6 separate regions of the Homo sapiens genome follow, and all the other regions are linked to region 1. Evidence: promoter capture Hi-C in 16 types of primary human blood cells and fetal thymus (Javierre and others, 2016). All regions are on one chromosome and are shown on one strand. Each heading gives the region's core, a stretch centred on a gene start or on the middle of the fragment in contact. The rest is flanking DNA. Distances are from core to core; before and after follow the strand shown. Region 1 holds the start of PSD2 (pleckstrin and Sec7 domain containing 2). Region 2 overlaps LOC101929719 (a long non-coding RNA gene). Region 3 has its middle 17 kb from the start of MALINC1. Region 4 has its middle 13 kb from the start of NRG2. Region 5 has its middle 23 kb from the start of IGIP. Region 6 overlaps PURA (purine rich element binding protein A).

The links. The method cuts DNA at HindIII sites, captures the fragments that hold promoters and counts their contacts. A CHiCAGO score of 5 or more calls a contact.
Region 2: a fragment that was not itself captured here is called in contact with the fragment with the promoter of PSD2 in region 1 in 5 of 17 cell types (endothelial precursors, M1 macrophages, neutrophils and 2 more); the score reaches 8.5 in endothelial precursors.
Region 3: a fragment that was not itself captured here is called in contact with the fragment with the promoter of PSD2 in region 1 in 1 of 17 cell types (endothelial precursors); the score reaches 5.0 in endothelial precursors.
Region 4: a contact is called between a fragment that was not itself captured here and the fragment with the promoter of PSD2 in region 1, in 2 of 17 cell types (M0 macrophages and M1 macrophages). The highest score is 5.3, in M0 macrophages.
Region 5: a fragment that was not itself captured here is called in contact with the fragment with the promoter of PSD2 in region 1 in 6 of 17 cell types (neutrophils, M1 macrophages, M2 macrophages and 3 more); the score reaches 7.8 in neutrophils.
Region 6: a contact is called between a fragment that was not itself captured here and the fragment with the promoter of PSD2 in region 1, in 1 of 17 cell types (erythroblasts). The highest score is 5.3, in erythroblasts.

Annotation. Positions count from the first base shown.
Region 1 is chr5:139,794,472-139,797,171 of GRCh38, forward strand. It overlaps PSD2 (pleckstrin and Sec7 domain containing 2), which reads left to right and starts at 1,337. Exons shown (of 15, transcript NM_032289.4): 1 at 1,337-1,504. RefSeq lists a silencer at 856-1,055. The HindIII fragment of the contact is 8,840 bases long and covers 1-2,700 here.
Region 2 is chr5:140,166,450-140,169,149 of GRCh38, forward strand. It overlaps LOC101929719 (a long non-coding RNA gene), which reads left to right. Exons shown (of 5, transcript NR_130738.1): 3 at 916-1,024; 4 at 1,232-1,353; 5 at 2,188-2,336. Among named protein-coding and RNA genes, the nearest start is that of CYSTM1, 7.4 kb to the right of the region's middle. The HindIII fragment of the contact is 2,022 bases long and covers 348-2,369 here.
Region 3 is chr5:140,089,998-140,092,697 of GRCh38, forward strand. No RefSeq gene overlaps it. Among named protein-coding and RNA genes, the nearest start is that of MALINC1, 17 kb to the right of the region's middle. The HindIII fragment of the contact is 1,427 bases long and covers 567-1,993 here.
Region 4 is chr5:140,054,608-140,057,307 of GRCh38, forward strand. No RefSeq gene overlaps it. Among named protein-coding and RNA genes, the nearest start is that of NRG2, 13 kb to the left of the region's middle. The HindIII fragment of the contact is 572 bases long and covers 979-1,550 here.
Region 5 is chr5:140,147,382-140,150,081 of GRCh38, forward strand. No RefSeq gene overlaps it. Among named protein-coding and RNA genes, the nearest start is that of IGIP, 23 kb to the left of the region's middle. The HindIII fragment of the contact is 3,283 bases long and covers 1-2,700 here.
Region 6 is chr5:140,120,540-140,123,239 of GRCh38, forward strand. PURA (purine rich element binding protein A) reads left to right here. Exons shown (of 1, transcript NM_005859.5): 1 at 1-2,700. Among named protein-coding and RNA genes, the nearest start is that of IGIP, 4.0 kb to the right of the region's middle. The HindIII fragment of the contact is 655 bases long and covers 1,053-1,707 here.

The DNA.
Region 1 (2,700 bases), core at 87-2,586:
ATCCTCTTCCTGCTCCCTAAGAAGAGTCCATGTTTGTGTGTTCATGGGTGGAAAGAAGGTCAGAGAAGACTTCATGAAGGAAGGGGCATTTAAGGAGGAATTTGAGGGTTCAGTAGGAGTTCACTGAGCACAGCAGGATCAAGGCCCCACCGGGCAGAGTGTGGATCATCTGCTGAGGTCTGGAGATGGAAGCAACTGGGTGTGGTGAACCCCCCAGGGGCTGGAGTAGGGGAGAGGGGTAGAAAGTGGCCTCCAGTGGCAGGGCCTGACTCTATCCTGATTTCCCTTCTCCCAGGCACTGGGCCTGCTCCCCACGCCCTCCTTAGATCCCTGTGGGTGGGGGCCCTTTAATGCCTCTCTGAGAGGCGGACTCTTACTCTGCAGGTGCCTCACAGCCAGGAAGTTCTTAATGTCTAGCCCAGGTACAGCCAGTCAACCCTCTTCTTCAGTTAGAGTCCTGGGCTGAGGGGGGCGGCTTCAGGGCCTTGACTTGCCCTTGGGGAGACACCGTGGGACAGGTGCCTTGGGAGATGGTTTCCTCTGCCCAGGGCACCCTCTGTCTCTCTCTGTCTCCTTATATCTGCCCAGGGAGGCTTCCCCTTGACCTGGCACAGGGATGTGGATTCTTGGTTGGACCCACCCCTCACCTCCCGCCTCCCTCAGGTTCTTTCTCCTTTGTCTCTTTCTCCTCTCTCCTGCCTCCTCCCATCCCACTCTGTCCCGAGGCTCCTTCTCACCCCACAGCCCAGGTCTCCGTCCCGTCCCGTGTGACTCTAGGTCTCAGGGGCTCAGTCTCCCTCTCTGAGATTCTTCACCTTGGCCCCCCGCACTCCCTGCTCCTCCCTTGGCGGCGTCTCCCGGGGGCTGGCGTGTGTGTCGGGGGGCTGGGGGCAGGGGTCACTCCCTGAACAGACCGCGGGAGGAGGGCCAGGACCCGCCCCCTCCTTCACCTCCAGGGCCTGGCGGGTCCCGAGAGCTCAGGTTCTAGACCGGTGGGTCCTGCCTGGAGGGCGGAGGTGGTTGGGTCTGCCCGAGGGTTCGAGGACGGCAGGGGCCCAGCGTGGCTAGGAGGGGGCAGAACCCCGGGCGCTCCCCTCCCCCCCTTTCTTAAAGGGCCCGCGCGGGGCAGAGGGGGACAAGGTGGGCCGCGCTCTCCCCGGCACGCTCGGGGTCCCGGGGCGAGCGCTGCGCTGCAAGCGGACAGGGCTGGGGGCCGCGCTTCCCTCCGGGCTCCGCGCCCGCCGCTCGCGCGCCCGCAGTGCCCCCGCCCTTCCCCGCCCTTCCCGCTCCTCCCTCCTCCTCCTCCTCCAGCTCACGGCTCCGCTCCCTCCCTCCTGCCGTCCGTCCCCCTCGCTCAGCCTCTCCACATCGCGGCTCCGGCACCTGAAGGGACGCGGGCGGGCGCGGGCAGCTCCGACCGGCGGCGGCGGGGCGGGACAGGCAGCCCGGCGGCCTCCGATGGCCCCGCCGTGAGAGGCCGGACCCGCGGCGGGGACCAGCAGCGGTGAGTGGGGCCGCGGGGCTCCGGGACCCGCCCCTCCCCGCTGGCGGCCAGGCCGGGGCGGGACGGGCCGGGGAGAGGGCCGCGTGCGGGTGGGGGGCGTCGCCCTCGCCCTCGGTGCCCACCCGGGTCCGCTAACAAAGCTACATTTCCAGATCAATTCCGCGGCGTCTGGAGCATCCGAAGGATACGGTTGTCATGGAGATGGGGCCGAGAGAGGAAGCCCGGGCTGGCCGGGTCTGGGCCGGGGAGAGGGGGCGCCGCGGGAAAGCCCGAGCCCAGCCTGAGGGACGGTGGGGGCTGCCGGGCCGATTGTCTCCCGGCTCCGCCACCCACTACCCTCTCCCCGCTTTTGTATAATCTGGGGGTACGCGTGTGCGTGGGGGGTGCCAGTGGCAGCCTGGTGGTCGGGGATCGGGGCATTGGGTACCGGGGCCTGCCGGCAGCCACCTTCACGAGGCTGCAGCTTTGAGGATTTATTTCTGTTTCCAGTTTCCCAACTTTGACAGCCCTGCTTGGCGGCCAGGCCTCCCCGGCTCTGCAGCTAGAGCGGGGGCTCGCACGGGGGCGTGGCAGTCAGGGCTGAGGAGGCACATAATGGCCGAGGCGGCAGCGGGAGGGAGGGGTCCCAGGAGCGGGCTGCTGGGGCTGGGTGCAGAGGGAGTCCAGACTGGGGACAACCCTGCCCAGCGGGCCCCCTCGGAGGAGGAGGTATTCAGCTGTTCCTAGAGGATGCAGGGACTCCCCGGAATGATCACTGGGGGCATTGTTTTTGCATAGGCCCAGGGGGCCACTGTCTCAAGCCCACCCCTTTGTCTTGGGGCCATCTTGGGGGGGCCAGGAAGAGAACAGGGAGCAGAAGCAGCAGTCACAATGGAAGAGGGCCTAAGACTCCTGGCAGCCTGGGGATAAGCCAGGCTGAATTTGATGGGGATCAGCGAGAGGGCTCAGGATTTGGCCAGGGCAGGTGGGCAGCCTGGGTTTGGACTTTCCTGGGTTCCCCAGTTCCTTTTTCTAGATCCTACAAACAAGAGCTGCTTAATAGTGGTTGGGGGTGGGGGGGTTCACTGGGCTGGGACTGCCTCCAAACCCAACCCGTGGCCCAGGGCAGTTGCAGTCGTTCTTTCATTCTTCCACCCTCTCCCCAGGACTTTAGGAACCTGTCTCCCAGGGAAGCTACAAGTTCTGGGGCCTGGGAT
Region 2 (2,700 bases), core at 109-2,608, 370 kb after region 1:
AGGCAGGAAGGGGATTACTGGAGGCTGCAGTAAACTAGAGAACAAGCTCTGTGCAAAGGAAGCCTCTCTTACCATTCAGCATCTCAATGAATTAACCCTCACAACAGCTCTATGTGGTTGGTCCTATTATTATTCCCATTTCTTAGATGGGGAAACTGAGACTCAAAAAGGTGGAGTAAGTAGTGCTGGGTCCCAAGGTGAGGACATAGGGGAACCATGGCTGGAACACAGGCCTCTGGACACTCCGAATCATAGCATTGCCCTGTGTCCCCTTCAGTGGGAAAAGTCACTTCATCTCTTAATCTTAAATGATCTTCCAAGCAAGAGGAGGGGAGAGGAGGAGTATAAGCTTTCTTTGTCCCATCTTTTTCAGAAGGTATCTAAGTCCTTCCTGTGTGTGTCTTCCAAAGATACAGTACCAGGACCTAGAGAGGCTGAGATTTAGAGCCTCATGGTGCAAACTCAATTGTAGGGTCCTAGCCAGGACTACTTGCCTGTATCTTCTAAGAATCTCACAACAGTGCCACATGCCTCAGCTTTATCCAAGCAACAGAAGGAGGTGGTGGAGGTGGTGATGGCAGCAGCAGCAGCAGCAGCAGCAGTGGCAGCAAATCTGTCCCCAGTGCACTACAGTACTGTTTTGCTATGATGAAATACACATGGCATATGGCTACAAAGTTACTATCTTGAGAGTGGATAGAAATGGGATTTTTCATGTGCCAGATTTCACTTCCCTTTCTGAAACAATTCTTGTAGTAAACAGAGGTTTTCTGATCTTGCTAAGATCAAGAGGATGGGAATTCCTTTACACTTTTAAAGTAAGACCACTGTCTTGTAGAGTTTCAGTCTGTTGATGGTGCAAATGTTTTTTAAACATGGACGCTATTCTGTGTTCCTCCCTCTTTCCTTCCAAAGGCTACGACACAAAGAGGAGCTGCTAACACCAGATGACCAACTCCTTTCCAGTTACGGACCATCCCGGTGATGAGACCTCCATATGTTGTCTGATGGCCGCAGTTCCTTGGCAAGTGGGTGGGGAAAAGGAAAGTTGTGTTGAGTGTGGGAGGCCACAGGGTGGAGGAGGTTAGGAAGGACCAGAAAGCACATAGAATGTGACTTTAAGGAGGAGAATTTTTTTGAACCATGTCTTGTGTGCTGACAGCATAATGATCATTATTAGGGCCTCAGATGTAACATGAAGCCCACCCTGAAGTTAAATTTTCCTTTTCAGAGAAGCGTGGCCTGTCAGCCCAGCATCAGATGGTTCCATGCCAACCTCCTCCATGGCTAGGTGTTGGAGCGCCCCAGCTGCTGCCTCCCTGGTAGCTTTCATTAAAGGACTTTGCTTTTTTGGTAAATAAGGGCCCCATTTTTCTACCTTAGTCTTTGAAAATCAACCTGAGAAACACTTTGTGTAAGTACCACAGATGTATTTGCAGTTTTCTACACACATTTAGTTTCTGGGGTTTTTCGTTGTTTTTTGTTTGTTTGTTTTTTGAGATAGAGTTGCCCAGGCTGGAGTGCAGTGGCATGATCTTGGCTCACTGCAGCCTCCACCTCCCAGGTTCAAGTGATTCTCCTGCCTCAGCCTCCCGAGTAGCTGGCATTACAGTTGTGTACCACCACGTCCACCTAATTTTTTGTATTTTCAGTAGAGATGGTGTTTCACCATGTTGGCCAGGCTGGTCTTGAACTCCTGACCTCAAATGATCAACTGCCTTGGACTCCCAAAGTGCTGGGATTACAGGCATGAGCCACTGTGCCCGGCTGGCCAACTAGTTTCAAGGTTGCTATCTGGAATCCTACCTCCCCAGGCACCCTCCTGGTCACAGCATGACCTCTAACAGAGGGGCAGATCTGTAGCCTTAGTTGTACCCAGACAAATTTGGTTTGGCTTTCATGGTATTTTGAAATTGGTTTTCATGTCAAAATCCTGTTTGCTGGCTTCTCTTGAAAAATCAGAAAACTTGGCCACATTGAGTTATATTCCTGAATGTCAAGTGGCTGGATCTGAATGAGTAGTGCTCCCTTTGCACAGAGCATGTTATCTGATATGCCTCAGTCCCTACCACTTCCCACCATCCCCCGCAACCACACCCCAAGAGAAAATATGAGCTAAAAGGCAGATATAGATATAGGTGTTCTGGTCTTGACCCTACCACTCATTTCCTGTGGCTCCTTGAACAGGTGTCTACATCTCTTAGGAAGAAGAGAATAATGAGATGATGTATGCAGAGCACTGGCAGAAAGCCTAGCATAGAGGAATCTGAGGATTCGCCATGCATGCTTCCTGGTATATAGTACTAGTTCTTGTCAATGGCACAGAGACTTGAAGACTGTATATAAATGGACACACCTACTAGAATGTAAGCTTCATATGCACAAGGACTTTAAAAAATCTGTTTTGCTTATTTCTACATCCCCAGGGCCTAGAGCAGTCCCTGGCACATGGTAGGCCATAGGCCCTCAGTAAATGTGTTGAATGAATATGTGGATTTAATATTTCCCTGACTTATTTTCTTATGTCATGTGCTAAGTCATCGGTCCATTTTAAAAATATAAATGCAAATAGACTTATAAGCTGATTATTTCTAATTTATATGTGTTGAATTTATTTTCTTAATTACTGAAAAGATTAAAAAGCAGAAGGATGCTTCATAGTTGACGGAACTTCATTGCCATAGTCATTTGACTCACAGC
Region 3 (2,700 bases), core at 30-2,529, 300 kb after region 1:
TATGTTGCCCAGGCTTGTCTCAAACTCCTGGGCTCAAGCCATCCCCACAAAATGCTAGGATTGCAGGTATAAGCCACTGTGCCCAGCCAATCCTGGTTCTTTAAGTTAGAGCAAACTCCTCTCTTCTTCCAGGAAGATAATATTGGCTGCCTTGAGAAGAAAAACAAAAGATGCTTCTTTGCTTTAATCCAACATAGATGTAAGAACAAAATCTGATAAAGGTATCACAACTAAATAAATGCTACTGAGAAATCTTACTTAAGAATAATGATGGAAAATAGTAACTAAAATACTAGCAAACAAAATTCAGTGACATCTTAAGAGAATTAAACACCAGACCAAGTGAGATCATATCAGGAATGCAAGGATAGTTCAACATTAGGAAACTTATTGTGATAATCATATTAACAATCAAAAGAGAAAAGTATATTACCTTCTCTTTTGAGTGATTTATTGATTCATTCATCCCGACAATTATTTATTAAGCACCTACTATGTGCCAGGTGCTATACTAGATGCTTGGGATATGGCAGTGAGCCAAAATGGAAAAAATCTCTGCCCTCAAAAGCTTACATTTTCATCAAGGGAGATATACAACAAATGATTAAGCAAATAAATAATAACACCTGGTAGTGATAAGTGCTATGAAGAAAATAAAGCAGGCTAAAAGAGAATGATGGGAAGGATGCTATTTAATATAGGTGACTGGGGAAGGCCTCTCTGTTAAGATTATACTTGAGCAAGATCTAAAGGAGGTAAGAAAGCTAGCCAAGGGAATATCTGGGGGAAACTCATTCCAAGTAGAGAGAAAAGCAAATGCAAAGGCCCAGAACTGGGAGAGTGCTTAGCATTCTCCTAAGGTCACTGAAATGGCTGGACTAGAGTAAGCAAATTGGAGACTAGAAGAACACAAGATCAGAGAGGAGGAGGGCAGAGGAAACAAATCATATATGACCCGTAGGCCATAGTAAGGACATTGGCTTTTATTCTGATTGAGACCTATTATCACTAGAAGGTTTTGAATAGAAGCATGACATGATCTGGGCTCTGTAATAAAAAGACTGTTCTGACTGCTAGGTTGAGAACAGACTCCAGGGATAAAGGTAGAAGCAAGTGACGAGATAGGAGAATGCTGCAGCAGTACAAGTAAGAAATTATGGTGGCTGGTATTCAGGATGGCAGTAGTGAATGTGGTGAGAGGTGGTTACATTCTAAATATGTAACGAATTCTATTATACTATGAAGCTGCTGATGTACATGAAAATATTTAATCTGTATCAATTCAGTTTCTCCAGAGAAGGATCCTCTTATCTCCTCCCTAGGGATAGCAACAGTCTGGCTGCTAGCTTTCTGAAGCTGGGTCAGGAAAAATGCATAACATTCTGCTTTAGAGTTCAGTTTTATGTTTTTATACCATATCCTTGTTTTCATACCCATTCCTTAGAGCCTGATATACCCAAGTCCACATCCTTTCTAGTTCAATTTTTCCAAAGAAGATACCTTCTGTCTCCTGTATGGGGAAAGAGAGGAAAGTGTCTATTTGGGGTGGAAGTAGGAGTAAGGATCTGGGTCCTATCTGATCCTTATATAGACCTTCCAATAATCCAGCCCCTTTCAGCCCCTTCCCTCCTTGCACATATACTTCACCTGCTGTGGCTTTCTGAGGTTCCATAAGACAAATTAGTGTGCTTCTTGCTGGTGTTCTCTTCCTCTGCAGTACCTAGGTTTGAATTTCCTCTGCCTTGCTAAGTCATTTTTCATTTCTCCATCCACTTTTAGCCTTCATATACTATGCCTTCGGGTTAAAGATGTTTCCTAATGTCATTGAATATGGAGTCTGTGTTTTTATTTCTTGTCTTCCTCATACAAATATCTTTAAACATGTTAAAATATGCCTAATATCACTTAAATTAGAAAACAGCATGTTAAAACTTTAATAAGTTACTACTTTCCACCAACAGATTAGCAAACATCATTTACAAGGTTATTGGCAAGCTTCAGTTGCTTGCTGGCTGTTGGCTGGAAATCTCAGTCCTCTGCCATGAAAGCCTTTCCATAGGCAAGTTGCCTGAGTGTCCCCAAGACCAGGAGGCTGACTTCCCTCAGAACAAGTGAGAGAAGAGAGAGCTCAAGACAAAGGCTGCAGTGTTTTTTAAAATAGCTTTTTAAAGATATAATTCATATACCATACAATTCATTTATTTTCAGTGTACAATCCAATGGCTTTAGTATATTTAGTTTTGCATCCACCACCACAATCAATGTTAGAATATTTTCATTACTTCCAAAAGAAACCCCACACCCAGCCATCACCCCCAACCCTACCTTAACCCTAGAGCCCTAGGGAACTACCAATCTACTTTCTGTCTCTCTATATTTGTCTATTCTGGACATCGCACATAAATGGAATCATACAATATCTGGTCTTTTGTGACTGACTTATTTTACATAGTATGTTTTTAAGGTCTAACCATGTTGTAGCATGTGTATTTCATTTATTTTTATTAGGCGCTCTTTTCTTTTGCTGTCTTCTAGTGAAATTCCTTTTTATTTCTACTTATATATTCAGATTTTTTTTTTTGAGACGGAGTTTCACTCTTGTCGCCCAAGCTGGAGTGCAGTGGCACAATCTCGGCTCACTGCAACCTCTGCCTCCCGGGTTCAAGCGATTCTCCTGTCTCAGCCTCCCAAGTAGCTGGG
Region 4 (2,700 bases), core at 15-2,514, 260 kb after region 1:
CAGGAAGGAAGACAGACCATGGGCACAGTATAGAAGAATGGATACAGATTAGTTTATAGAGCTGAGTAATGGAATCTTCATTTTAACACAGGGCTGAAGCCATAAGCGAAAACAAAAACCAAAAAGAGAGAGAAAAGAGGAATGCAAGCTGGAAAGGAAAAAGGTGGTATGCATGTGGAAGGGGAAGAAGGGACACTGTATTCTTCCTTTTTTTCTTTAAAGAAATCCATTTGACTAATATAAGAGAGGATTAAACTTTTCCACGATCTGAACTGTTGGTGTCCACCCTACAAGATACCCCTTTCTCTGGATCACAATACCTAGGAAACCAATTTAGTAATCACAAGATTGCTCGATGATCAGAGTTTCTGGGCAAAGGGAATGAATAATCTTGAGTTCATTTCATTCAAGGTGTTAAAAAAAAAAAAAGCCTGATGAGCTATCTCTGATACATGTAACAGGGTACACATGCTTGCTACATTCAGCTTATCTCTCCCCTGAACAATGTTGGAAACGAAGCGACACAATCTCAAAATCCAGTTTGTGGAACAATCTACCTGAGACCTATTTAATCTTATATCTATTTGGAAGTACATCTTCCAGCCATTAAGAAAATTGAAAACCACTAGAGGCAAAATGTATCAGGCAGAGTCCCAAGCAGGAAATACTATTCTATTCAAAACAGTTTACTGAAAATAACTTATTAAAGGGACTATCTACAAAGATGTGGGCCAAGTTAAGGGAAACAAGACTCAGTAGAGACACCCAGGGGCCTGCAAGAGTGGTAAAACATTCCCTTCCCTCGACATACAGGGGTGAGGTGAAGAAGAAGTGTCACCAGATCCCAGTAAGTACTGGAGCCACATCGAAGGGGCCGTCAGGCAGCTCCTGCAAGAATGTGGCACTAAAGTAGGGAGAAAGAAGGGGGAAGAAACAATCTAGTCTCTCCTTTCTGCTCTTCCTCCTACCCCCATGCCAAGCTTCTGCTGAATGAACCACAGTCAGAAGCCAGAGGATGAGGGAACCCACAGAGGTCAATGTACAGGGTTCCAGGCAGGACAGGGAAGGGCAAAGAGTGAATCTGATGGGTGGGAGTCTGGGGGCAAACAGTATAACTAGCGCAGGAAGATAAGCTATTCTTACATGAAACAAAGAAGCACCTAAATAGGAATGCCAACCTTGGACTATTTATGGAGCACTAAATTTATGATAGAGAGGAGGGAAGGGGAGAGGGAAAGCGAAGTAAAACTCTCATTCATACGAAGATAACAGTAACTCTTAGCTTTCATTCATCTCTCTTACTAGACCAGAGATTTGGAAAAGGGGGAGATATTATTTTGCATTTTGTTTTATTCAAGAGAAGCCTTTATTTTCCCCTTATTATTAGAAGGCAAAAAATCCTAGATATAAAAATATTTGTTTGACTCTTTGAGAAAAAAGAATCCAGTACAGATTTTCATATCCTATTATCCTTATACTACTATTCCCACCTCCCCTCCACGTGCACCACTGGAAAGAGGCTAAACCTCCAGGAGATACTGGCTTACCGAAGCTTAAATTTAGACAAAAGAACTGATGCAGACATTTGAGGTCACTAAGCTTCTGTCACCATATGGACATAATCAAACAGAAGGCAATACAGCATTGTGGTTAAGAAGGTAGGCTCTGAACCCAGACTGCCTGGGTTTAAATGCATGTTCTACTACTTACTAGCTGTGTGACCTCCAGCAAATTACTCCTGTCATCCTCCATATCATCTGTAAAATGGGGATAATAATAGTACGTATTCTACAGTGTTAGCTTATGAGGATTACATGAGATACTTCATGTAAAGTACTTAGGGTACAGTCTGCCATATAGTAAATGCTTAATAAGAGTCTTACTATTAATAAAGCCAATTTTCTGATTCTGAAGTATTATGCAATCAATTATATTTCTCTTTAATAACCTGGTCTTTGTCTCCTCTCCATATGTTTAGATTCTTCTCCAGAATCAATCTCTCTCTCATTCTGTCTCTCTCTCTCTCTCTCTCTCTCACACACACACACACACACACAGCAGATAGTGGAGTCCTCATTTCTCATTTATATCAAAGATGTTTGGATACTCTTTAATTCATTCATTTACTCATATCTTTATTGAGCACCTACTATGTTCCAGATACTGTACTAGGTGCCGGGCATAATATAAAAGTGAGGAAAAAGCAGACAAAGTCCTTACTCCTAAGAAGCCTGCGATCCAGTGAGGGATACAACATTAATCAAATTACTACAAATAAATATTATATGATATTTACTATCTTATAGTACACTACTAAGTACTATCATATAGTATTTATTTGTAGTAATTACATTAATGAAAAACCTGAGCTGCAATATCACAATACACTTACGGGCATTGTCCATCAGCTCAGGTTTTTCATCATCTAGAGAAAAAGAGGAGCAGAATTCCATGAGCTACAAGTGAGACACCAGGCTTTGCTGTCCAATGTGGTAGTCACCAACCACATGTGGCTATTTATATTTTAGTTGTAAGTAACTAAAATTAACTATAAAGTTTTAAATTATGTTTCTCATTTGCACTAGCCACTTTTCAAGCATTCAGTCATCATATGTAACTAATGGGTACTGTATTGAACAGTGAAAATACAGAAGATTTCTATCATTGTAGAAAGTTTATTGCACAGCCCTCAGATATGAA
Region 5 (2,700 bases), core at 189-2,688, 350 kb after region 1:
TCTTTCAGACTCTGAGGTGTGGGACTGGGTTGCAAACTCCAGACATTAACTTTCTTTAGCATCTGGAACCTGGGTCCTAGGAGACTATTTCCTCCTTACTTCATCCAGACATCAAAAATAGACCCAGCAATTGATCCCATGTTTAGAGGCCCTCAGTGACTCTGCATCCCCAAGGGGAGCCTCATCTCCCAGGACACAGCACTGACACTCTGCAGACAGTACAGGGGATCTACTCCAAGCCCAGGGCAAGACCCCACACCCACTCCCTCTGTCCTTCAGTTCCCGTATGTGTCTTAGACTCCCTGGCCCTGCAAAGGCAAGGAGTGACCTGAAGTCCAGAGCCTCACATGACCACAAGACCCTCAGGTCTAAAGAGTGGCACTTGTTGGAGCCCTGCTCCTGTCCCCACCCTTAGGAGGCTCTGGGAATGGGGTGGGGGAATAGCCTGTGTGGCCATGGCCTCTGGCTCTGGCTTAGACTACTACCTTGCTGCAGTATTGTGTCTTCCTCAAATTTTCTCATAGGTGAGTGCTTACCAGGAGTGGCTCCCACAGAGCTTCCCCATTCACCCAAACCTGTCTGGAAGAGCACCCCAGTTCAGCCACCCAAACCTCACCTCTCACCCTCTTCCAGTTAGCACTGCCTTTTCTCCTTATCCCTGCCAGGGACCCCTTTCTTCCCAGGAGAGATACCCAAATTGTGAGTATCCCACACAATTTAATGGGAACCTACTTTGTGCCAGGCACCAGGCCACGGGTTGTGGATGCAAAAACAAACAAGAAGCAATTACTGCCCTCCTAGAGCTCATGGTGGTTGATGGGGAAATTTATTCCTTTATTCATTCATTCACTAAAATGTACACTGAGCACCTACTGTGTGCTACGCCCTGGGGAGTGCTAAGTTCTTAGGTAGACAGCGATGAAGACAAGTATAGGATTCTGGGGATTCTGCCATCCTTAGAATGCCACCGTGTAGAGTCATGGTTTATAGGGGACACAGACATTAATCAAACCACTTGGCAAGCAGAGAATTATAAGCCATGATAAAGAGAATCACAGGATGCTTTGAGCACCTATAGAAAGGCCAGGAGACAGGAAGCCCGGCTGAATGGGAAGGACCATGGGAGGTGCAGGAGCCAGGCATATACCTGGTAGAACTTGGCTTGGTGCTTATCTTCCTCCTGAAACATGACCCTAGACCCTTGAGAACGTCCCTTCCTGTGCCCTATCCCTCATTCCCCACACCGAGAAAATCTGCCAGCCCCTCTGCATGGCCCCTCCCTCTCTGAGGATACCCGGGCATCTCTCCTTGCTTCCTGTTGATTGGTGGCAGGAGGTTCTAGTGCCCCGCATGGTCACTGACTGAAGTTTTCAGGCCAGCTAAGGGGTGGGGCTTCAGGCTTGTGCGGCCGCTGAGTCCCAGCCTTCTGTGTTCCATGGACCATGGGAGGAGGAGCTGGGATTGGGGCATTTAATGAAAGAACTCCTAGGAGAGGAGTGATGAGGTTTGGCACATTGACATTCACACACCCCACCCACCCCCAGCCTCCACTCCACTGGTTCTCTGGCCTTCTCATTTTTTTTTTTTTTTTGTTTTTTTTTTTTTTTTGGAGACAGAGTCTCTCTCCATCACCCAGGCTGGAGTGCAATGGCACAATCTCGGCTCACTGAAAGCTCTGCCTTCCGGGTTCATGCCATTCTCCTGCCTCAGCCTCCCGAGTAGCTGGGACTACAAGCGCCCACCAGCACACCCGGCTAATTTTTTGTATTTTTAGTAGAGACAGGGTTTCACCGCGTTAGCCAGTATGGTCTCGATCTCCTGACCTCGTGATCCGCCTGCCTCGGCCTCCTAAATTGCTGGGATTACAGGCTGGCCTTCTCATTTTTAAGGCCTGGCTAGGATAAGTTCCCCACCCCTGTCCCTCAGAAGAATGGCAGGGCCTGGGCAGCAGAGCCCTGGGCCTGGGACCCATCCAACAAAATGGCTATTCCAGACGCCTGGTCCTGCCTGGCTTTGACTTCTCATCCACTCTACACTGTGACATGGATCTGGGTGGGGCAGGCTGCTCTGCTTCCAGGTAAGGACTGTGCCACCCACGCAGCCAAAGACCACCTTGGGAATACCAGTACCTGGGCAAGAGATAGCCCCTGCAAGGCCCACCCACCATAGGCTGGCTCAGAGAAGGCTGAGGATCCCTGTGTTCTCCCTGAACAGGGGTACAGGGCCCCTCAGCAGGGCCAGCTCCTCACCAGGGTGCCAACCCATGGCTGGTGGCTGGGAGGAGGGTGCTATGCAATGCTGGGAGCTTGACCCAGGCCTCAGCCTTAAGGAGCAAATGTGTCCAGGGCCACCAACTGGCCTAAGTCCTTGGGCATAGCCTCTGTCTCATGCCTCTTGATCTCACCAGGGGGGATCTCCAGGGTGGCCCGCCTGGGAATGCCTGTCCCTCAGCTGGCACACAAGTACCCATGGCAGTGCCGCAGGTTATCCAGCAGCAGCCACAACAGATAAGGCAGCCTGCCACCTCAGGCAGCCGTGGTCTCTGTTTTGCTTCCTTTTCTCTTTAGGATGAGACTGATGAGGGTGGGGTGGGGATTAACCCTTGAGTTGCTATACGTAGTTTGGCCCAAGCCTAGGACTTTGGGAAGTGCTTTATATCACTGCTTTCTTCCTGTGGCCCTGGCCTTTGCAGATGTGGGT
Region 6 (2,700 bases), core at 130-2,629, 330 kb after region 1:
ATTTAAGAAGTTATTTGATCCTGAAAACCTAAATTTAAGGTATAGGCCATTTGACACGTCCTTTTTGAACAGAAATTTCATTACAGGCTAAGTGAAAATAAGCCAGAATTAGCATGAGTCAGGTAGAATTTCATGATAAAAGAACAACCAGATGAAATAAGAAATAATGATTGGTTTCAAGCCAATGAATCTGCTAAGCTAACTACCAAGTTTTGATGTTGAATGGTCCAGGCAATTTATGTCTTTAGGAAAGCTGAGTGTGGCAAAGGTCACTTGTTAACATTTTTCTTAACAAGAATGTCATAACTACTCATTCATTTTTATTTTGTCCCCACGTTTGGTATTTGTTTTGTTTTGTGTTTTTCCTTCCTGATGTCCTTTGCTTTTGTGGAAGATTGTCCTGTTGATAGGCAGAAACATGGTGGTGATCCTCTATGTAAAATATAGTTGCTTCTTACACATCAGAAGTATTTCACTCATTTTGGAATCACAGGATTTTCATGTTTTCATAAATACACACATTGTTTTGATAATTATTAGCAATTAGCTTATTTTGTAGCATTAGATGGAAAAATGTTTAAGCTAAAGAGTTTAATTTTCTTGATTTTGGTTCCACTTTAATAATTCAAGAGGCCTCCAAGTTCAAGGACCAAGTCCTTCTATTTTAGAATTGTGAAAAACATGGAAATACTCTTGTTAGTGTGTGTTTTGGTCTAAGGTAGATTATTAACACAGAAGGATCCTAGGAGGATTTAAGAAAATATGTCCTTATCGTGAAGTGGCAGTTAAAGTTATGGGACAGGTGAATTACCTATTCATCTTGACTAGCTCAAACAATGATAGCCATCAGCTAATGACTTATCAGACACATGTTGAGTTTGGGTCAAACTCCCATTCAGCTGGAGTGGATTGGCAATTTTAAATGCAGGTAGTTGGTGGTGGTACTTGACCTACCTCCTTACCATGTACATCTGGCATCTTCTCTCTCCTATCCTTTTTCTTTGTTTCTCTCTCCACTTTTACTCTTGCTGTAGGCCTACCAGTGGCACTCAAGCTTACTTCTTCAGAGAGAAGTAAAGAAATTTCTGACTCCTGCCTTAGAACATAGCTAACTGATGATCCAGAACAATTTCAGTATTATGAGGTAACTGGGCAGTTTTTTTCTGATTGCTATTTTCCCCATAGTCTTAAGCTGGCAGTTTGAAGGTATCTAAATTAATGTTAAGAAACTTGTGAACTGAAGAGAGTAAGAAGTATGTGTATTTTAGGTAAGTTACTGGGAACTGAGACTTACTGGTTTGGAAATTGGAGAGTAGGACGAGGAGAGCTGTTTAATGTGTTTGTGGATGGGGGTTTGAGAGGTATATAGAGAATGGTTTGGAAATAAAGTGAGAGGAATTTTTACTAGAGGTAGGAAAAGGTACTATGATGGAGTCCGAATGAGAGTTATTTGCTAAGGAAATGAAGTTGATCTTCACTAAGGAAGTTTCAATAAAGCCAGAGAAAATGGGTCCCTCATTGATTATGAGAAAGCTGTTAGTTACTATAGCTAGAGTTATGATAATGATCATGCATTATACAAGTCTGTTTTCATGTATAGGATGTCTGCTTTTCTGGGACAAATTAGCACAATTGTGGAATGACAGCTTTTCTGGTCAAGGCAAGTGGATGCTGGGGAGTTATTATTTTGAGGAAAAGAAAATTTCAAGCTTTTCACCATTATTCTTTTTAAACTATCAGAAATATTTATCACACATACTATCTATTTTCTTGGGCTCTTGTTACAATGTAGTTTACCTTTACTTTTCAAATGGTCCTTAGATCAAATTATTTGATTTTGTACTCCACAAAGACACATATTATTCCTTGCTTTTATAGAATTTTGAGACTTTGGCCCACACAAATTTCTTAGAAGACAATAAACCAGGTAAAAACACTAACTTGCAATTTTAGGTGTCTTTTTTATTTCTTTTACATTTGCATCCGTAGCAACCATTTAACCTTGTAGACCTTATGAGGCCCTCAATAATACTGTATTTCTAAAATTAGACAACATACCCCCCAAACTCATGTTTCTGTTTCCCTACTTTCTCTCTTACTTTAAAATTGTAGTATTCCCAAGAGTTCAGTGGTGGCAAATGTTAATAAAATAAGTTAGTACATTTTGGAGGTTCTTATATCCTTTGTAGGGTAAGCTGATAGTGTTTAGATTTCTGTTCCCATTATTCCAGTAGTGTTTTAAATTATTTAAGATAAATAATTACTGTAATGTTTGTTTTTAAGTTACATAATTCAAGTATGTTTGGATTAACTCTTTGTTGTCAAATTTAGTATGGATTTATTCCTGGTGATTTGGACAGATTACTTTGAAGTTTCATTTTACTCACATCTCTATATATTAGTGATAAAAATCTCTTTTAAAAATAGCAAAAAAGTGGTTCTGATTTTGTACTTTGAAGGTAATTTTTCTTTTTTACGAATGTCAGGTTCATTAACAATAGCAGGATTATTTTTACTATAGCTTATTTTGTAGAGTTGGCACTTTAGTATAATTTTCACATTTTATTGTGTCAGATTTTAAATTATAATAGTTATATACTATAACTCATTTAAGTCAATGCAAAGCCTTCTTAAATAGCCCCTCCCTTAGAAATTTGTTTAAAAAGAAGTGAATTCCCAAACCTGTGTCAAGAACTTGTG